Regions from separate parts of the Homo sapiens genome. Here regions 1, 3 and 4 are each linked to region 2. Evidence: promoter capture Hi-C in human tissues and cell types (Jung and others, 2019). All regions are on one chromosome and are shown on one strand. The core of a region is centred on a gene start or on the middle of the fragment in contact, and the rest is flanking DNA. Distances in the headings are between cores, read along the strand shown.

The links. Contacts are between HindIII fragments. The study calls those that stand out against the background at their distance.
Region 1: a contact is called between a fragment that was not itself captured here and the fragment with the promoter of CLSPN in region 2, in 3 of the 25 tissues and cell types used here (dorsolateral prefrontal cortex, heart left ventricle and pancreas).
Region 3: a contact is called between a fragment that was not itself captured here and the fragment with the promoter of CLSPN in region 2, in 2 of the 25 tissues and cell types used here (bladder and thymus).
Region 4: a contact is called between a fragment that was not itself captured here and the fragment with the promoter of CLSPN in region 2, in 2 of the 25 tissues and cell types used here (liver and neural progenitor cells).

Annotation. Positions count from the first base shown.
Region 1 is chr1:35,531,219-35,536,729 of GRCh38, reverse strand. All of the region lies in intron 2 of KIAA0319L (KIAA0319 like), which reads left to right. Among named protein-coding and RNA genes, the nearest start is that of KIAA0319L, 23 kb to the left of the region's middle. RefSeq lists enhancers at 4,833-5,332, 5,333-5,511. The HindIII fragment of the contact is 4,604 bases long and covers 167-4,770 here.
Region 2 is chr1:35,768,523-35,774,058 of GRCh38, reverse strand. CLSPN (claspin) reads left to right here and starts at 4,081. Exons shown (of 25, transcript NM_022111.4): 1 at 4,081-4,212. The coding sequence starts at 4,189. CLSPN-DT (CLSPN divergent transcript) reads right to left here and starts at 3,964. Exons shown (of 3, transcript NR_199050.1): 1 at 3,811-3,964; 2 at 1,049-1,261. RefSeq lists a silencer at 4,239-4,468. The HindIII fragment of the contact is 25,943 bases long and covers 1-5,536 here.
Region 3 is chr1:35,918,996-35,924,016 of GRCh38, reverse strand. AGO1 (argonaute RISC component 1) reads right to left here. Exons shown (of 19, transcript NM_012199.5): 18 at 4,763-4,962; 19 at 1-4,518. The coding sequence ends at 4,410. Among named protein-coding and RNA genes, the nearest start is that of AGO3, 9.6 kb to the left of the region's middle. The HindIII fragment of the contact is 4,306 bases long and covers 1,407-5,021 here.
Region 4 is chr1:35,625,625-35,630,900 of GRCh38, reverse strand. The region is part of intron 3 of PSMB2 (proteasome 20S subunit beta 2); the gene reads left to right. Among named protein-coding and RNA genes, the nearest start is that of PSMB2, 13 kb to the left of the region's middle. The HindIII fragment of the contact is 9,137 bases long and covers 1-5,276 here.

The sequences.
Region 1 (5,511 bases), core at 1,219-3,718, 240 kb after region 2:
AAATGCCTTTGGGCTAAACCTTGGCAGATGGGTCTTTTGAAATGGAATAGCACCTGTATCCAATTAATGCAAACTTTTGATTTATTAAGTTGTTTTAGGTAGAAGTTAAAGGCATTAGAATTGTGATAGAGTGGTTTCCCTGTTTTCACCTAGGTGACCAGAACTTTGAGGTATCTTTTTCTGTTTTTCCTTTTTCATCATTACTCAGGACAAGGGAAGGTGAATGGATCTAGATGTCATCAGTGATGCATGGCTCTTTGCCTAGGTGAACTGGGAAGCTATTCTCCACTGTTGCTTTGTTCAGAAATTTTCATGGTGAAGGCTTATGTCACCTTTGAGTGAAGTCGAATGGTCTGAAATAGGTAGCTCAGGGAGCTGAAATTTGGTTGGTCCTTTCATGAGGAAAGATTTCTTTGGGATTTGAAAGGATTTTCTAGTTTAGAGTTTAGACAGGAAAGGCTGTTTCCCAGCTGGTTATATTATTCAGTTATCTCTTTTTTATCCACTCTGCTTTTCTTCAGTTTCTTTCTTTGCACATCTCTCATATTTCCTATTCAGTGCACTCCCCAATTTAATTGGAAAAGCTCATTCTAATTTGTTAGTGAACCAGGAACTTTACTTTTCTCTCTTGCCTCTTCCTTCTTTCAGCCAAGGAAATTAATTAACATTAAGGATCTGATTCAAATGACTATAACTCAAGATATTCCATATTGGAGCTGACATCTTTTGCTTGATTTTGTTAGTATAGAAAAAATCCCACAAATTTATTTAAATATTGGGTGAACTTTTAAAATTAACAAGAAAGCTCCTTGAATGTCTACTATGTGCTAAGCATCTTTCTGGGCCTACACATACAATATACAACCCCAGCACTTAAAGAGGGCAGAGTGTGTGAGGTAGACAAACAAATATGATCTGGTGAGAGAAATGCTATGATAGAGGTATATGTAGGATGCACAGAAGAGAGGCATCTTGGGGTGAAGGTTTCATGGGAGAAGCCTTCCTGGAAAAAGTGGTGGCCGAGCTAAAATGAAGTATAACAACAACAACATAAATAATGGCAACTAATATATACTGAGCTTTTTAATACTATATGCCAGGCTCATGTTAAGTACTTTGCATATATTTTCTCCTTTATATCTTTAATAACTCTGTAGGGTAGGTACTGTTAAAATTATTCCTGTTTTACACATGAAAAAACTAAGGAATTTGACCCAAGATGACACAGTTAGGAAGTGACTGGGTTGAGATTCAAATGCAGGAATCTCAGCTTTAGGAACTAAAGCTTTAACCACAGATTTTTGGGGTGGGGGCCAAAAGATAGAAGAGAGCAATTGTGGAATAGGGCTGTTGATCTTGATAGGGGATTTTGTTTGAAAACAAATTTCAACTCAATGTTATGAGGGACATGTATGAACATTACCTTGGGGAATGAATTTATTTTCTCACCTAGACTAAATGAGGGTGGTTTTCATATTTTCTTTAGCCTGTGAAGTATAAGTATTCTGTTTCAAGTAGGTAGAGTAAAAGGACTTTCCCCTACTCTTCTGCCTATAAATATTGCCCTCTTCTAGGGAGATGTTCTGGTACTGGGTACTGTTATTCTTTTTTTTTTTTTTTTTTTTTTTTTTTTAAGACGGAGTCTTGCTGTGTCTTCCAGGCTAGAGTGCAGTGGTGTGATCTTGGCTCACTGCAACCTCCATCTCCTGGGTTCAAGCGATTCTCCTGTCTCAGCCTCCTAAGTAGCTGGGATTACAGGCATGCGCCACCACAGCTGGCTGATTTTTTGACTGCCATGTTGGTCAGGCTGGTCTCGAACTCCTGACCTTGTGATTGTTTTTCTTTCTTTTTTTTTTTTTTTTTTTTTTTTTGAGACGGAGTCTCGCTCTGTCACCCAGGCTGGAGTGTAGTGGCCCGATCTCGTCTCACTGCAAGCTCTGCCTCCCAGGTTCACACCATTCTCCTGCCTCAGCCTCCTGAGTAGCTGGGATTACAGGTGCCTGCCACCACGCCCGGCTAATTTTTTGTATTTTTAGTAGAGATGGGGTTTCACTGTGTTAGCCAGGAAGTTCTCGATTTCCTGACCTCGTGATCCACCTGCCTCGGCCTTCCAAAGTGCTGGGATTACAGGCATGAGCCACTGCGCCCGGCCACCGATTGTTATTCTTTTCAACAGTTTGTCACAATCCAGTATCTTTGAGGCTTTTTAGTGACAGTGTTATAGGAAAGGACTTGCTGTTGTAAGCATTCTTAACCAGCAAAGTACTGCAAGATTCAGGTTTTGTGATTGAGTCCTTGGAAGCTTGTTTTCCATCTAGCAGATAATCAAGAGTTAGTGTGAATAGTAGCTGATATGTATCTGTTGGGCAAGTAGTTCCATGAGGAGTTTGTTTTTGTTCAGAATGATCTTTAGGAAAAATGGAAATACCACGGTGAAGGGAAAGAAGTCAGAATATGTACACAAAGCCTATTAATTCTTGTGTAGCAGTTAGTGTAGTTTCAGCAAATCATCTACACCATACATTTAAAAAACTGTACTCTTAGCAAAGCTAGGCACATAGCAAAGGCAGTGAGTAGTAATTATTTTCAAAGGACTGCTTTGTGAGGCAGCTGCCACCTTTCAATCCAACCTGTGTGTAGTTGAGGAAAAAAATGTTACCCCTTTTGAAAAGGAGGAGAGAGGGCAATGGTTATTACCTTGGCTTTTTTCAAACTTCGTAATACCTGATTGTGTCCTTCAAAGGATTTAGTTACCTCCTCTGCCTTGTTTCTGAATGTGCTAACCCCTGCAGGGTAGAACTGATGTGGAGAGTAAGGTGGAACCATTTTTTTTGTATTTGTTTATTAGTGGGTGTGCAGGTGACAGACATGCTGACAGTCAAAAGGGAGGTGGAGGGTGCCCCCTGAGGAGGTTTGTTTTTGAACGGTTCCTGTGAGTTGTTTTTGGGATTGATAATGTGCCTGCTTATCTCATTTTCATGTGGCAGCCATCTTGGCTGAGACCCATTGCTTCTGAGAGAATGCATACTTTTGATGATAGCTGTAGGAAGACAGATGGTGTAGAGCCATAGTTCAATTACTGAATAAAGAGACAAATTTAAGGCTGTGCCTTTCTCCTTGATAATAGTTCATTTATAGGTATAATTATCAAGGGAAAGCTTTGAATGAAGTCTTGACCATATTAGAAAATTGTGAGATTTCAAGAAAAGAATTTTAGCTTCAATGACGGTAAATATTAATTGCAAATTTTTTCTACAGAATACTCTAACCATGTATTTGTTTCTGCAGCGAAAACCCCACCGAAGAGAAGAATTTATCAACTGCTTTTTTTTTCTTTTTTGAAATAATACTGGTAGCTCATTCTCTCTACTCTTATTTCCACCATCACAGCCTTTCCTTTGGGATACAGTCTGATGAATTTAGTTAGAATTTACATTTCTGGACACTAACAGTATGACTCCTGAAACAGGGGACGTTCTGTCTCTGCTCCCTACTTGGTTGCTAACCAGGGCAGTTTTCAAGTTTGCTTGAGAAGCCAAGCTTATTACCTGAGATTTAAGAATGCCAGAGCCAACAGCACTGTCTTTAAATATTTCCAGAGTTGTTCACAGCTTTCTAAAAGTATTTAATGAATTTCCTTCTGGCAATAATTCATATATCCTGTAGACTTTTCCACTCTGCTACTTGGAATTATGAAACCTGGTCTAGATTTTGTGCCAGATATATTAGAATTCTGTCTTTTGAGAGGTGGTGATGTAAGTAAGCATTGCTAGTTCCAGAGCCTCCTGTTTTGGGGATCCTCCAGGTAATACATATGGGAGCACTGCTTTCTCTGCTTTGCTATGATTTTAGAAAGAGGGGAATTGGCTTTGCTCCACTGTTCTCACCCTGGGTAAGCTTTCTACATGCTCCTACCAACAGTGCATTCCAGACTTTCCCAAAAGATTTTCAGTCTAAGGTTCTACCAACTGTAAGCCATTTTTTGTAAAGATTTAATATTGCTTTTGCCTGGGCCCTGGGAGCAGAGCCAGGGTATGGCAGCGTGGGCAGGGAGAGGAACTGATCTAAAATTGGAGTATATTTTCATCTTACCTTTTATCCCAGTTACTTCTAGAATCCAATATTGACTCTACCAATGCCTTTCTGCTTCCTCCTTTTATGAACTCTTTGTCCCAAGAGTATCAACACTGAAAATTTAATCTTAAGTTAAATTATTCTTCAAAGGTTAACTATCTGGTAAATGATGGACCTAGAGCTGAAACTAGAATCATTTAAGATGTTAACTGTCTTTTAACCACCTAAGACAAAGAACTATGATTCAGGGAATGGATGAAAAAGAACTGTTTTTTTCTTTTCGTATTTTTATTATTGAACACATGATGTAACAACATTAAATAACATTTAATTTTTAAAAACTCAGTCAAAATCCCACGAATTAAACATGTGAACTGAGAGATCAGAGTACCTCTTCCTCTTTTTTTTTTTTTTTGAGACGGAGTCTCACTCTGTCGCCCAGGCTGGAGTGTAGTGGCACAATCTTGATGACTGCAACCTCTGCCTCCTGTGTTCAATGATTCTCCTGCCTCAGCTACTTGGTGCCTACCACCACGCCCGGCTAATTTTTGTATTTTTTTAGAGTTGGGGTTTCACCATGTTGGCCAGGCTGGTCTCGAACTCCTGACCTCAAGTGATCCGCCTGCCTTGGCCTCCCAAAGTGCTGGGATTATAGGTCTGAGCAACCGCGCCAGGCCTACCTCTTCCTCTTATTGGAAACCATTGAGATTAGTTTTATTAGCAACACTATAGCCCGCTAACCTCCCCTGGGCCTCACATTTCTTTTATAGAAGCTAGCTTTTTCCTAGGCCTCACATTTTTTACTTGTAGTCATTGTCGAAGATATAAGGGCCCGAGTCTTTCAAGATGACCGACTAGAGGTATAGAATTCAGTAGAGAAGTGACAGAAAACACATGAGGCACTGAGGGAGAGGGAAGCGAGGTGGATAACCCAGGCAAGATTGGCTGGGAGCCAGAGGGGCTTCCCAACGTGGAGACAGAATAAGTGAGCAATCCCCAACAGTCCACGTTCTCACCACCTCCTGTAATCCTAGCCACGAGAGAGTGCTTTGACCCTTGTGGGCCCTGATACTGGCAGAGGGAGATCCCTGGAGCCTGTGTGATGGCATTGCTCCAGAAAGGGAATGCACACTGAGTCCCACGCATCCCCCAGGTCCCTAGTGGGACACAGGACCATTTTGAGAGTCCAGCTCTCACCAAACTGTATCCTGCCCTGGGGCCCAATAGCCCCTGCCTCTCTACATCCCTGGAGCCCCCCTGACATTCCCTCGTATCTGCCTAGAGGGCTCTAGCAGCAAGACACTGGTTGGGCCCAGAGGAACCACAGGGTCCACACAATGTCCTGTATACCAGGGAAAGGGCAGTGTAGTGTATCAGGGAGGCTGCTCCCAGGACAAAGGGTGCCAAAGTGCAAGCTCCCCAGAGTATGAAATCTGC
Region 2 (5,536 bases), core at 2,832-5,331:
ACCTCCAAAAAAGAACACATTTCTGAGAAACTAAATTAGTTACCTAAGTTTATGAAGCCCTCTATGGGACAGGTTCAGACTAATCCCTGTAAAGTGAGCACTCCAGATGTTTCCTTTGTTGCCATTTATCAACTTGATAAACAAGGATTGTTGGATGACTACAACAATGAAGGGACAGAGAGGTCAAGGTGATTCACAGGTTTCTAAACTGGTGAGTGGATATGGTTCCACTCACCAAAATTGAGAATACAGGTTGCTAATTCTAAATACAGACTCACTTTATCTTGGCACAAGTTAATGTGTAAAATAAAAGTTTCCTGGGGATGGGAGGAGTATGAAGTTGTTGCTTAATGGGCATAGAGTTTCAGTTTTGCAAGATGAAAGGAGTTCTAGGCCAGGCCCGTTGGGTCACACCTGTAATCCCAGCGCTTTGGGAGGCCGAGGTGCATGGGTCACTTGAGGTCAGGAGTTCAAGACTAGCCTGGCCAACATGGTGAAACCCCGTCTCTCCTAAGAATACATACAAAAAAGTAGCCAGGCGTGGTGGCAGGTGCCTGTAATCCCAGCTACTTGGGAGGCTGAGGCAGGAGAATTGCTTGAACCCGGGAGGCAGAGGTTGCAGTGAGCCAAGATAGCACCATTGCATTCCAGCCTAGGCAACAAGAGCAAAACTCCATTTCAAAAAAAAAAAAGAAGAGAAAAAGAAAAGAATTCTGAAGATTGGTAGATTGGTTACATAACAATTTGAATGTACTTCTGAACTGCATACTTTAAAATGGTTAAGATGGTAAATTTCATGTTATATATGTTTTACCACAATAAAAATTGAATGAAAGGTTTTCCTTTCCTAGCTTACCCATGTCCACCCATTGTTCAAATTGGAGCTTTCTCTCTTAGCTTCTGTGATGAGTGAAAAGGTGCTCCCCAAAGATATTTTAAAATACTAATATAAGGAATATTATTTCACTCATTCATTTTCAGAGGGAGCTCAAGAAGTTGTCAAGTGAATGAATTAATTAGTTCAACAAATATTTATCAGTTTTCCTACCTTGAACCTGGGATGTTCTAAGTCCTTTGTTCTCAAAGTGTGGTCTCCAGATCAGCAACACTAGCATCACCAGGGAATTTGTTAGTAATATACATTCCTGTGGGGCACGGTGGTTCATGCCCGTAATCCCAGCACTTTGCGAGGCCGAGATGTGCAGGTTGCTTGAGTCCAGGAGTTTGAGACCAGCTTGGGCAACATGGTGACACCCCGTCTCTACAAAATAAAAAATTAGCTGGGCATGGTGGTGCACACCTGTAGTCCCAGCCACTTGGGAGGCTGAGGTGGAAGGGTTGCTTGAGCCTGGGAGGTTGAGGCTGCAGTGAGCTGTGATCATGCCACTGCACTCAGGGAGAAAAAGAAAAAAAGGAAAGAAAGAAGTATACATCTCTGGACCCCACTTCAGACATACTGAATCAGAAACTTTGGCACTAGGACCCAACAATAGCTGTTTTTACCAGCCTTTCAGATTATTCTGATGCATGCTCAAGTTTAAGAAAGACAATTCTAGGTTGCAATGATACAGAGGCCAAGAAAACAAAACGCCTGTTCTCTTGGAGCAACAACAGACAAATAGATATAAATAAAATTTCAGGCAAAGGAAAGTGTTATCAGGGAAACCAGCATAGGATAAGGAGGCAGAACACAGAGGATGCTCAGGCAGGGTCTTTCTGAGGGGTATGAGCTCTGAAGTCACATAGAGTCTGAAAATTGGCTCCACCAGTTTCTAGCCTTTTAAAAGTCTGGTTTCCTCATCTTCTAAGAAAGAGATAATAATATTACAAGTTTACTCTGAAGATTAAATAAGATAACACTTATAAAATCCTTGCAACTGTTTCTGCCACTGAGTAAGGCTTCAATAAACGTTAGCCCTCCATATATGATGGGGAGTGCCATAGATGTATACCTGGGAATCGTTGATGTAGAAATTAATAGTAAATGGATGAAAAGGTGGATAAACCAAGACACAAAAAGAGAAGAGGATGGATGATGGGCTCTTGTTGGTGGGGACAGAAGTGGATTGAGAGATGGTGGGGAAGTAAAGAAATGAAGATGTGGAGAGGGAGCTTTTTTCTGAACCCAGCTAAAGGTGGAAACTTGGAAGAGGAGGCCAGTGGATTGGGTGAAGAACCAACCATTTGGTATACCTGTGACTGAGGAGGTTCTCAGGATGCAGGACTTTTAGTGCTAAAACTAGGAAAGTCCTGGGCAAGCTGGGCCAAGCTGGCCACACTGGCAGTGGATATGACCATGGAGGGTGAAGTGAGCAATAAATACTCTGACCTTTCTTTCCTGGTGGCCTCTCATCTCCTTACAGTAACCTTATAAGGTGTCTTTACAGGGGCCTGACCCAACCAGAAGGGCAAGGGAGCTGGGATAATACAGTCTAGAGAGGTCAGCCTTGCCTTGACACACACCAGGGTAAAGGAAGGACAGAGAATTGACCTGGAGAGGCAAAAAATAATGGCCAGCACAGTGGCAAAACTGGGATTAGAATTGTCTGGGATAGGCCAGGTGCGGTGACTCACACCTGTAATCCCAGCACTTTGGGAGGCTGAGACGGGCGGATCACGAGGTCAGGAGTTCAAGATCAGCCTGGCCAAAATGGTGAAATCTTGTCTCTACTAAAGTTACAAAAAATTATCTGAGCGTGGTGGCACATGCCTATAATCCTAGCTACTCAGGAGGCTGAGGCAGGAGAATCGCTTGAACCCGGGAGGCGGAGGTTGCAGTGAGCCGAGATCACGCCATTGCACCCAGCCATGGTGACAGGGAGAGACTCTGTCTCAACAAAAAAAAAAAAAAAAAAAAAAGAACTGTGTCTGGGATAAACCTGATTTCAGAGCTTCAATTCTTTTTCCAGCCTTGTTTAAAGGTAGAATGCCCTCTAGGAGTGATGAGTGCTTTCTACATCCTCAAATTAACTCTACAGAGAATTATAAAGATTATCCAACCATATTCTTTGGTATCTGAGCAGCCCACAAAACTTTTTTCTTTAGAGACAAGGTCTCCCTCTATCGCCTACGCTGAAGTGCAGTGGTGCGATCATAACTCACTCTAACCTCAAACTCCTGGACTCAAGCCATCCTCCCACCTCGGCCTCCCAAAGCGTTGAGATTACAAGCGTGAGCCATGGAGCCCGGCCCTCTTTAAAAAATAAAAGTGGGCCGGGCACAGTGGCTCACGCCTGTGAGGGGTATGAGGCCTCCCAGCACTTTGGGAGGCCGAGGCGAGGATCATTTGAGATCAGGAGTTCGAGACCAGCCTGGCCAACATGGTGAAACCCCGTCTCTACTAAAAATACAAAAATTAGCCAGGGGTTGGTGGCGGGTGCCTGTAATCCTAGCTACTCAGGAGGCTGAGGCACGAGAATCGCTTGAACCCGGGAGGCGGAGGTTGCAGTGAGCCGAGATCGCGCCACTGCATTTCATCCTGGCTAACAGAGGGAGACTCCATCTCAAAAAAAAAAAAAGTGTGTGTGTATACACATACATGTGTATGTGTATATATGTGTATGTATATATGTGTGTACATATGTGTGTGTGTGTGTATATATATATATATATATATATATATATATATATATATATATTCAGTGGTAAGTGTCATGTACAAGAGGCACACAGGATCTAGCTGCTCCAGAAATGAAGTCAGTGGAGAAAATCCCCACGGGAACCTTGGAATTCCTCTAAAAAGTTCAGGTACAGGACACTCCCAGGTGCCCAGGAACCGTTTCCCAGCTCACTTCCCCCCGAAAGACTCACCCCTCCAATCGCACTCGATGCTTTGGCAAGTGTCAAAGGTCAAAGACCACGGCTCGCCTGGTACCGACTGCCCCGCCCCCGTGCACCTCCAGCTCCCCCAGGCTCCGCTACCAGCAGCTGCGACCCGCCAACTCAGCCTGGGTAATAGGAGATTGGGCGGCCAGAGGCGCTGCGTGATTGGTGGGTCGGAAGGGGGCGGGGACTCGCTGGAAAGCCCCCTCTGGATTGGTGCAAACCATCTGGGTGGGACCTCCACTCTGGCTGGGCGGGAAAGCAAGAACAGCACTGCTGGGCTGGAGACGGCGGGAGCCGCTGCTCTCCGGCTGAGGGAATCAGAGACAGCTCCGTCCCTAGTGGAGCGCAGGGGAGGCAGAAGTCATGACAGGCGAGGTGGGTTCTGAGGTGAGTTTATGCACACGCCCCCCACGGGGGCTTAGAAGGCCGGGCACCGAGAGGTTAGGTGGGGCCGGGGTAGACCCCGCTGACCCGAGGCGCCCGGGCGGGAGGACTGCGGCTCCCGGCGTTCGCCGCGCCGGCTCCCGCGGCCTCGAGACTCGGCCGGGATGGGTTCCGACCGGGCATCCCGTCCCGCCGCCGGGCTTCCCGCGCTTCGGGCTCCGTGGCCGGAGAGCTCCAGGTCTCTGCGGCGCGCACTGCCGGCAGCCCAGCCCCTCTTCAGCCGGTTCCTGCCGCCAGCCCTCCCCTTTGGCGCGTTTCCTGTCGCGGAAGCTCCTCCCCTCAGGGTGCTCTGAAAGCCGGGAGGCTCTAGCCGAACCCGGCCGCAGCGGTGCGGGGGGATTCTCCGCAGAGAGAGGGCGAGCGAGGGTGTTAGGGAGTTCCACACTGGGCCTGGGAGGGGCCCTGGAGGTCATCGCGCGCAGGCCCTTTGCGTTTTCCGACCGGGCCCCGAGTGGGGAAGTCACCGCTGGGGCTCCTGGCTGGTGGCTGGCAGCTCCCTGGCGAAATTGGGCATAGAAAACAGATGTTTCCAGAGCTGTGTCCTTTCTGGGCCGGATTCGGGCAAGGCACTCCCGCCTTAGGAGCAAAATTTAAAGGGGCGCCAAAACCCTCAATCAAACTCATATTTTAATGCAATATTTTTAAAAAACCAAAATTAATGCAAAAACTTTTTATGATTTGATATTGAACAAAATATCAGACGTTTAAACAAAGACGAGATCCGACCAGTCATTTGCACGACCTTGCCTCAATCACCTCACCCTAATTCCATCCCTGTTTCCAATAAACTTTATTTACAAAAGCGGGCATATTATTTACCTCATGAGCTGTAGATTATTGATTTAATTTTTTAAAAAATATTGCATTAATGTTATTCATTTTGATTACTGAATTTTTTGAGACCTCACCCCACCCTGTTACTGGCCCTGCCCTTTGACGTTGCTGCAAATTGCCTAGAAGATAATCGTCATTCAAAGCAGCCCTATTCCTTGAGCTGTCTGGTTACCTAAATTCGGTTTCCACACTCACAAACAGAAGTAATAGTTTTACTGCTTTGGATTGTTGAGAGGATCATCAGTGCATACATATTAATTCTCAGCAATCCCAGCACTTCGGGAGGCTAAGGCCGGCAGATTGCTTGAGCTCAAGAGTTCGAAACCAGCCTGCATAGAAAACATGGCAAAACCCCGCCTCTACAAAAAAAAAAAAATTAGCCGGGCGTCGCCTGTGGTCCCAGCTACTCGGTCCCAGCTACTCGGGTGGCTGA
Region 3 (5,021 bases), core at 2,310-4,809, 150 kb before region 2:
GTCACACATGCCCACCACATGGCTGCTAAGTGCAACATCACATACCAATTAGGCTGGACTGTGTGCACAGGAAAGTAATTTCATTTTTCCTTATTGCTACTACACCAAGGGACTCAGTGCATTCAACAAATGTCTTTACTTGCACAATTCTTGGAGGGTTTCCTATTTTCCTCTGTAAAGAAGAAAATCTCCCTTTCCCACCTCATTCTGTTTTGTTTTTAGCTCATTCCTTCCCCTCCCTTTCTTGGATGCCCAAACAGCAGCCAGAGGCTCTAAGTCAGTATGAGTAGAGTAAGGGAGAGCACCAACCCAGCCTCTCTCCCTGCCCAGGGAGAAGGCAAGTCCTATTAAGTCGGAGGAAAGCGAAAACCAGAAAATACCTCCTTCCCAATCTGCTTAGAAGGCCAAATAGTAAAAAGTGCCCTGCATATCCCTGCCATGATCAGATTTTAAGAAGGAAGGTATTCCAGCTACCATCCTGGATTGGCCTAGGCCCCATATATAAATAAAAATAACGTCCCCCAATGTAGTTTCCAAAACTGCCTTTTGGCTAGTTTGAGATGATTTTTCTACCCTGATGGGGAAGAAACGTCCAACCTTGTTAGTTACACATGATTCCAGGTCCAAAACTGTCCCACCAGCCTTACAGATATCCTATGGGCCAGCTAATAGTCAGTGCACCCTTGGCTGCCCATCTTGAGTGCTGGCCTTATTCACAAACAGAAAAAAAAAGTATCCAAAAACACTGCTGCTTAGCTAAATAGGAGGCCACAGAGAAGCTATCTAGCAGGTGGGCATTAGGAGCTTTTTAGGGAAGTTTCAAATTTCTAGGTACCTTCTTCGGCTTTATGTTAAGCCTAAGTTCCCAGCAACAGTAGCCCCAGGCTTATCCCTGGAGGCCAGTGTAGCACCTCGATCCCTAATGGATCAGGTTGGACTGGATAAACAATCAAAGAACAGTGCTCTCCTTTCCCACCTTTTATTCAAATTCTCTCCATTCTCTTCTCATCACTCTTTTTCCTTTATGTCCATCCCCTAACACTCAAACCCAGGATACCCAAATAGCTCAACCCTAAGACAATCTCAGAAAAGCCAGGCCCCAGGTAAAGAGAAAAAGAACCAGATTTAGAAAAAGCAATGAGAGAAACCAGCTCCAAGGAGTGGACAGGTGTGGAAAATGCCAGAAACCCTCCTGACTTCACACAAGTTGGGCAGGTCAGTTGCTCTTCTCTAGTATAAGCTTGAGGGCAGTCCAGCCCAGGTGGACATCTCTGGGCTTGGGGAACAGGTTCTTGGTCTTCTGCAGTCAAGGAGCTAAGCCTGACCCTGCCAGCTAACAGTGGGATCATTGCAGCCATGCAGAGATTTCATCATCACATAGGCAGACAGGCAGGCAGGCAGGCAGGCAGGCAGGCAGGCCGGCCAGCAAGCAAGCAGAGTGAATAGAAGAAAAGGGAAAGGAAGCCAGGCAAAGAGAGAAGAGGAAAAGGAAGGCAAAACAGTGGTACAAAGGGAACAAGAGACCCAACTAAGAGGATGAGGCTGGGGGTCCCCCAAGCACTTCCTTGAAGCTTGGGTAAGAAGCACCACTTAAACCAAATCCACATGAGCCAAAGCTTGCTGCCAACACCACTTCTCCATCTGCATGCACCACCTTTCAAACAGGAATAATCTCAAGGTCGGGGTATTTTTCAAGTCTCAAAAATTATCTTTTTACAAAAAAATCAGAGTAAGAACTCATTTCTTGTCATTGCCCAAAGCTGATTCTCTTGCTTTTTATTTCTTGAATGGCATAAGCCACGTCAAAGGGCTAAAAATGCATTTCAAGCCCCAGCTGAAAACCAACTGGAGAGAGTGAGGCAAAGAGAGAAAAGGAGAGAACACAAACTTGTTGCTGGGAGTAGAGGCTGCCACCTGCTCCCTATGGACATTTGCAAATGCTGGTGAATGACTGGACCCTCCAGGAATAGTGCCCTGATCCTAGCCCCAAAATGTATCCAAGTGGAGAACATGCAGAGCCCACTGTCCCAGGAGAACTCCCCTCCCCAAAGGGTGACAGAACACGAAGTAGACTGTATATGAAGGCAATGGACAGGGCAGATGGAGTGTTAGCATCACTCTCTTTAGGCACTTGTGTAAGGAATGTAGGCTCTCCAGTGAGCTGCCTCCTCCCAGAGCCCTCCATTCTGTTCTTCAGCTGGGCTTGTGCCTATAGGGCACCCCATGCTGTAGCCAGCAGGAAAAAAGTAAAGGAGGAGTTACTCAACAGTCCTGATGCTTTCTCCATAATGAATGTTTGTGCTACGTTTTGTGAGTTGCTGAACAATGTAGCCAACCAGAACAGAACCTGGGATAGATTGTTTTGCATAGCAAATCCGGGTCATACAAGGGCAGCTAAGGGGAGGAAATGGTAGTTCTAACTCTACAGGCCAGGATTTAGACCCTTCTTCCTCCAGCTGGCCTCCAAGCCTGGGCTAGGTCTAAAGTAATCATGGCTTCATCACCAGATCAGGATAGATCCAAGCCCAGGCTCCTCAAAGAGGAAATTCCACACTGAAGTTGCAACTCCCCATCCCAAGCAGTGGGGCAGGAAAAAAATGAACAGTCAAGGAAAAAGGGCAGGGGGGATGCTTGCTTCAAGGCCAACAGAGACCAAGCTAGAACCACCACCTTCTCCAGTCCTGCAAGACAGCCAAACCCCATGTCTCAAGACAAAAAAAAAAAAAAAAAAAAGTCCATGCCACCCACCCACATGCCCTAGTGGGAAACCAGGAAAAATTCATTTTTGTAAACAGAAGCAATAGGGAGCAGCAAAATTCCCCAGCCTGTCCACAGGACACACTGCAATCTAGGATGAGCCAAAGGGTCAGAGGACAGTCCAGGGGAAGGAAAAAGATGCACTTGCAAGAAAGAGTGCAGGACAGTGCAGAGGAGGGAGGCTATAGCAAGAAAAAGGTATTATCTGCACAGAGGAAGGATGGAGCCTGGACCCCATCTTGGGGCGATAACCACCCCCTCCCTACCTAGCCAGGTCAGAGAACAAATCAGGTACACAGTTCATTCTGATGGCTCAATGTTTCTGGGATATAAACTCATCAGGCATGGGAAGGATTTCCAAATTTTGGCAATACACTCAAGTTATGGTATAAAAATAACATTTTGTTTTCTCTCTTTTTTCTCATTTTAGACCTAAGAGTTTTTTGTTATAAGACACCCCAGTTAAGAAATATTGAAACATAAGAGACTTGACCATCAAGGGAGAAAAGAAGCCAAGAGTGAAAAATGCTATGAAAGTAACTCCAGACCTGGGCGGGGCGGGAGGTAGGAGGAATAAGGAGAAAAGGAGGCATAAGTGGAAAGGCCAGGGGCCTGTCATCTCAGCAGCTCCGAGACTTGTCATGTTTGAAAGTGCAAATGTCAATGGATTTTAACCATCTTGAGGTTGTGATCTTTTAAAAAGCTCAATGAATGAGGAAGTCAATTCCTTCAAATGCAAAATAGCTGGCTTTCTGGCTGGAGGTTTGTTGGGTCTGGGGTATTTCTTCCCCATCTACCTCCTCTCCCACCCCCACCCCATTCCCCAAAGAAAGGTACAAAAGGTTGCAGTTCTGCAGCATTACCGTTACAGGGAAGGCACTGGTTACCCACCAGCGGGCGGAAGGAAGACAGGGTCGTGTCACTTCAAAGCTAAGTGCCATAGTGCCTTAAGTATTACTAGGGGCTGGATGTCTGTCAGGGAGGAGAAGTAAGGTGGGGCAGAAAATGTGGACAGAGAGGAATAAGGGTAAGGTGGGGGGTGGCAGCTGGGGGAGGAGCAACCAAAACCATTAAAAAATCTTCCTACAAACTGGATTCTGAACCCATTAAAACATCTAGTATCCTAAAATATTGATCTGGGTCTGGTTTCATTTTTCTTCTTAAACAAATCTAGTCCTTTTCTGATTAAGGCTCCTAAAAAATCCTTCCCTCCTCCCACCCACTTTCTCAAGCCCCTCACTTTCCCATCTAAAGTATCAAACCCAAACCTAACCAGCTTTTGTCTGCAGGGCTACAGAGTTGACCTTACCAAGCTGTCAAGCATGAGTCTTTAGCACTGTGAGTCACATGAGACACCTGTGTGTATGGTGGGCACCAGTGCTGCCCCTTTTGGTCCAGTGGGGTCAGGGCCAGATGTGACAAGATGGGGTGAGGGGTGGGGGACATGAGGTTGATATCAGAGATTTCTGGCTGGTGGTCTGTCTTGCTGGCCCTGTTCCCCACTCTTACACCACCTCTATAGAAGGAAACAAGGCATCCTACACTCCTCCCTACCCCACCTCCCTCCTCCTTGCTTCCTCTGGATTTGGGTGGCACAGCTCCTGGGGCTTGGAAAGCTTTCTTCTATCCAGTGAGGTAACAGCGTTCTGCCTTCAAGCGAAGTACATGGTGCGCAGAGTATCCTGGTGAACCTGCACGGCTTTGGCCAGGGCCTGGGGGTCCCGCCCATTGCTCTGCCCCGATATGTGGCTCCCCTCTCCACTGAAAAGGAAAAAATGAAAGAAGTCCTTCCTGGTGAACTGAGAGCTGCTGCTAATTCCCTCGCCCAGCCCTGGGATGCCAATTCCCATACCAACTTAAGAGAGAAACCCAACCCAGGATTGGGCAGACGAGCCCAATGACACCAAATTGGACAGCACTCATTTCCTTCTACCCAAGGAAAGTTAAGAAGATCTGGCACAATAGGCTGAAGCAAAAAGGAGGCCAACCTGATCCCAGGCCTCACCTGTCATGCTCCTTGTCCACCAGGTGGTATCGTGCCCGGAAAGCCACCAGGCGGGCATAGTAGGCAGGTGCTGGGATAGAGACAGAGCGTGTGCATCGTACGTAAGTGTGGCACAGCTGGTACGTCAGGATCTGGAGCTCATCTGCTGTGAAACGGTTGTCATCCCAAAGAACATAGTAATGGGATGGTCGGCTGGTGCCCTGGGAAGATAGGAAGGTGAGGGGTCCCAGGCTGGGCAGAGAAGATGGCTGATAATAGG
Region 4 (5,276 bases), core at 1,553-4,052, 140 kb after region 2:
GCATCTTCCACCAGGGTGATACATTGTCACAAATGATGAGCCTATATTGACAGTAATCACCCAGGTCCATAGTTTACATTAGGGTTTACTTTTGCTGTTGTGGATGTTATGGGTTTGGACAAATGTATAATGACATGTATCTACCATTACAGGATACAGAGTATTTTCACTGCCCTAAAAATCCTTTGTACTCTACTTATTCATCCTTCTCCATCCCCACAACTCCTGACAACCACTCATCTTTTTACTTTCTCCATGGTTTTGCCTTTCCCATCATGTCATATAGTTGGAATCATGGATTATGCAGCCTTTTCAGATTGGCTTCTTTTATTTGGTAATACACGTTTAAGGTTACCCTATGTCTTTTCATGGCTTGATAGCTCATTTCTTTTTAACATTGAAAAATACTCCATTGTCTAGATATACTACAGGTTATTTATCCATTCACCTACTGAAGGACATCTTGGTTGCTTCCAAGTTTTGGCAATATGAATAAAGCTAATGTATACATCCATGTGCAGGTTTTTGTTTGAACATAAGTTTTTTTTTGCGTAAATACCAAGGAGTGTGATTGCTGGATCATATAGTAAGAGTACGTTTAGTTTTTTCAAAGTGTTTTTGTAACAAACCATATTACTTAATACCTGTGACTGAAAGTCTCTATGTGTTAGTGAAAGTAGAACTTTGAAAATAATAATTCAGATTATTTTTATTTTTATTTTTTTGAGATGGAGTTTCACTCTTGTTGCCCAAACTAGAGTGCAATGGTGCAATCTTGGCTTACTGGAACCTCTGCCTCCTGGGTTCAAGTGATTCTCCTGCCTCCATTTCCCAAGTAGCTGGGATTACAGGCATGCACCACCACGCCCAGCTAATTTTGTATTTTTAGCAGACACGGGGTTTCTCCATGTTGGTCAGGTGTCAGGCTGGTCTCGAACTCCTGATCTCAGGTGATCTGCCCGCCTTGGCCTCCCAAAGTGCTGGGATTACAGGCGCGAGCCACCGCACCTGGCCGGTAATGTGGATTTTTATCTCGAGATTGCTTATCTGTGTTTCTCTTTTTTTCTTTTTCTTTTTTCTTTTTTTTTTTGAGACGGGGTCTCACTCCAGTTGCCCAGGCTGGAGTGTAGTGGTGTGATCTCAGCTTACTGAAGCCTCAACTTCCCGGGTTCAGGTGATTCTCCCACCTCAGCCTCCCAAGTAGCTGGGACTACAGGTGTGCACCACCACATCTGGCTAATTTTTTGTATTTTTAGTGGAGGCAGGATTTCACCATGTGGCCCAGGCTGGTCTTGAACTCCTGGACTCAAGCAATCTGCTGGCCTTGGCCTTTCAGGGTGCTGGGATTATAGGAATGAGCCACTCACTGTACCTGGCGTACTTACCTGTGTTTTTCTATGACTTTTTCCCAAAGCATACAGCATTGTTCCTCCTTACTTATTCTAGCCTTGTTGCTATTCTAGAGCTGTCTCCATTTCATCGACAGCATGTTAAAAGATGCAACACTAAGTTAAGGATTGAATGCATTAAAGATTGTGTAGGATGTGCTAGGAAAGTTCATATGGTTGCTAAAGGTGTGTGTTATTCCCTTCCCACAGGGACTAAATAAATAGAGCCTTACCACGTGATCTCACCCCCTGTGCCTGTTTACTTATCTATGAAATGGAGATAACTTCCTAACCCCACAGGGGTGCCAGGAAAATGAATGCTTGTAAATCATAATATTTAACATTCATGTGACTTTTGCCCAAAGCATTTTGCTTAATAATTTAATCTACTCACTATTCCACTGAGAAAGATAGTCTCTATCACTGAGATGAAGTGAAAGGCATAAAGTGTCAAAGGGACTAGCTCCAGGTCACACAGCAGGTCAGACAAAGCTAAAATAATGGTGCCATAATTATTTGACTATTCTGCCTTTGGTTCTTCAGTAGTGTTTCTAGAACACTGATGCTATTCATATTTTTATTATGGTTTGAGTTTTCATCTGTACTTGCTTAAAATAACAAGTTACTTTTTTTAAAGTTACTTACTACAGATCTATAAAGCAGTTTATTTTCTAGTGCCTAATAATCTTTGACTGATAATTTCTCAATAAATAGTACCTCTCAGTGCTAGCTTTGACCAAGGGCTTGTACAATCTGAGGGATCATGAAGTTTGAAGAGAAGCTAGAGACATGTAGGATTGAGAGGAGGAGGCAAATTTACATACATTGTTTTGTCCTGGGTGAAAGATCAGTAGTCTTTTCTTTAAAAAAAAAAAAAAAAATATATATATATATATATATATATATATATATATATTTTTTTTTTTTTTTTTTTCTTCCAAGAAAGTCATTGTCACCAAGTGGTCTTTTCTTCACTCCTCCTTGAGAAAGGAAAATGGGTCAGATATTAGTTTTTCTGTCACCCAGAAGTTCCTGTGGTGTTCAGCATTTTATGACTTGCCATGTACGATGTTCCTCTGACTTATCAGGCAGAACCGGAGTAAGAATTCCAGCTTTGGGCACAATAAATACTGTGTCATAAATATCACAGACATTAAGTGAATTAAGCTCCTTTTTGGAATTGAGATAAGAATGGCAGTGTGCTTCATGCAAATGCAGTGAATCTGGTTTAATCTTCTCCTAGCAGAAATGTTTGATGTCTTAACAAATATCCCTTGTAGACAGTGACATGGGGCTCTGGTAAATATTGACTACCTCTGCCTGAGCTTTTCCAGTAGGTCCAATCTCTGCTCCCCCATCTCCTTATCAAAATAGATTCTTAGTTCTAAAATATGAATTTATATTTTAGTCGTCTTATTCTGGGAAGAGAGATGATAGTTTGTCAGTGTTCCTAATAAGTGCAAAGTCACCAAATTTAGTATATTTATATGGTCACACCAGTTGGCAGATGTGACTCATTTTGGGTCAGCCAGTTACCATGTATAACTTCTGTGTCTGTAGCTCAAATTGTTTGATTTCTAATTTGCTCTGTGTATGTGTGGTGGTTTGGTTGGGAGGACATTTACTACCACTGAGTATATAATGAATCTTACATAAACTGGTTCATTAAAATGTAGGCAATTTAGCATTGTGGTTAAGAGCATAGTCTCTGGAATTGGACTACCTGGGTTTGAATATTTGCTTACTGACTTACTAGCTGGATGTCTTTGGACAAATTCTAAGCTTAATTTCCCTACTTACCAATTTCAAAAAGTTATTATGAAGATTAAATAAGGTAATAATGCAAAGCTCTTACTTTTTTTTTGAGACAGGATCTCACTCTGTCATCTAGGCTGGAGTGCAGTGGTATGACCACAGCTCTCTGCAGCCCCTTGACCTTTCAGGCCCAGATGATCCTTCCACCTCAGCCTCCCTGGCAGCTGGGACTGTAGGTGCATACCACTATGCCTGGCTAATTTTTTGTAGAGATGGGGTTTCTCCATGTTGCCAGGCTGGTCCCGAACTCCTGGGCTCAAGCAATCCTCCCGCTTCTGCTTCCCAAAGTGCTAGGATTACAGGCATGAGCCACCATGCCCAGCCCACTTGTGTTTTTATGCTGCGATTGCTGTTTGGTCAAAGAAGCAATTTAATGGCTATAAGTTAGTTTTTCGTGAGGGATCATTTGTTGTGCTTTTTTTTTTTTTTTTTTTTTTTTGAGATAGGGTCTCGCTCTGTCACCTAAGAGGTGGCACAGTCACAGCTCACTGCAGCCTCAACCTCCCGGGCTCAAACAATACTCCCACTTCAGCCTCCCAAATAGCTGGAACTACAGGCGCCAAGCCACCATGCTGGTATTGATAGGGAAAATAGAAGTAAAATAACATTGAACATATATTATGTGCTAGGATTTTTCTAGATCTACACAGTCCAGTATGGTAGCCAACTAGCCACATGGGGCTATTTAAATTTAAGTTAATTAAAATTAAATAAAACTTAAAATTCAGTTTCTGGTGGAAAATCTCCTGGTAGACTTTGCCTGAATGCTAAATCAACTTTTGTTCTTAAAAAAAAAAATTCTGTTCCTCAGTCACAGCCACATTTCAGGTACCCAATAGCCACAACTATTGTATTAGACATCACAGATCTGGAACATATCCATCATCATAGAAGTTCTCTTGGACAGTGCTATTCTAAATACTTACATATGTATCTGTTATTAAGTATCCTTATTATGACACCATAAGATGTGTGTTATCCCCATTTTACTTACAAGGATGTTAAGTATTTCTCTTAGATATGTTTCCAAAGCACATATATACTATGTTAAAGGTTAAGATTCCAGCTTCAAATATCAAACTCTTTCATGGTGTCTTCTTTATTAATTAGTGGACTAATGTACAAGTGTATTTGTGCATTTAGGGAAACATGAAATGTTCAGTTTTGTTAAAATGTCGAAATTGCACATAGTATTATATAGATAAGTTTGAATATATGTCCATTGTAGGTTTTCAATAAGTGTTTGCTGAAAAAGTGTCATCCAGCTAGGTCTATATATTCTGCTGAGAATATTAATTATGCATTTATACACTGGAAGGGAATTCTTAATGAATGGAATACCGGAAGAAGTATTCTTAATAAATGGATGTTAATTTGTATAGGAATTAAAGGCATGAAATCATCAGAAGACGAAAAAAGACAGATGGGGAAAAAATTCAGAAGCCTTCAGTTTAGTTGTTTATTTAAATGCTTGTATACATTTAAGATGGTCTCTTCTTGTTGGTTAGACCCCAAAGAGCAGAAAAAGGGCTTATACTATGCTCAAGGCTTGCTTTCTTCGGCCAGGCACAGTGGCTCATGCCGGTAATCCTAGCACTTTGGGAGGCCAAGATGGACAGATCAGTTGAGCCCAGGAGTTCAAGACCAGCCTGGCCAACATGGTGAAACCCCATCTCTACTAAAAATACAAAAAATTAGCCAGATGTGGTGGCACACACCTGTAATCCCAGTTACTCAGGAGGCTGACGCAGGAGAATAGCTTGAACCCAGAAGGTGGAGGTTGCAGTGAGCTGAGATCATGCCACTGCACTCCAGCCTGGGTGACAGAGCAAGACTCTGTCTAAAAAAAAGGCTTCCTTTCTCAAATTCTCCTTACAGTTTGACTAATGTCAGAGGATGATGAGTTATGGGGCTATTTCTTTTCTTTTTTTTTTTTGAGACGGAGTCTCACTGTGTCACCCAGGCTGGAGTGCAGGGGCACGATCTCGGCTCACTGCAAGCTCCACCTCCCGGGTTCATGCCATTCTCCTGCCTCAGCCTCCTGAGTAGCTGGGACTACAGGCGCCCGTCACC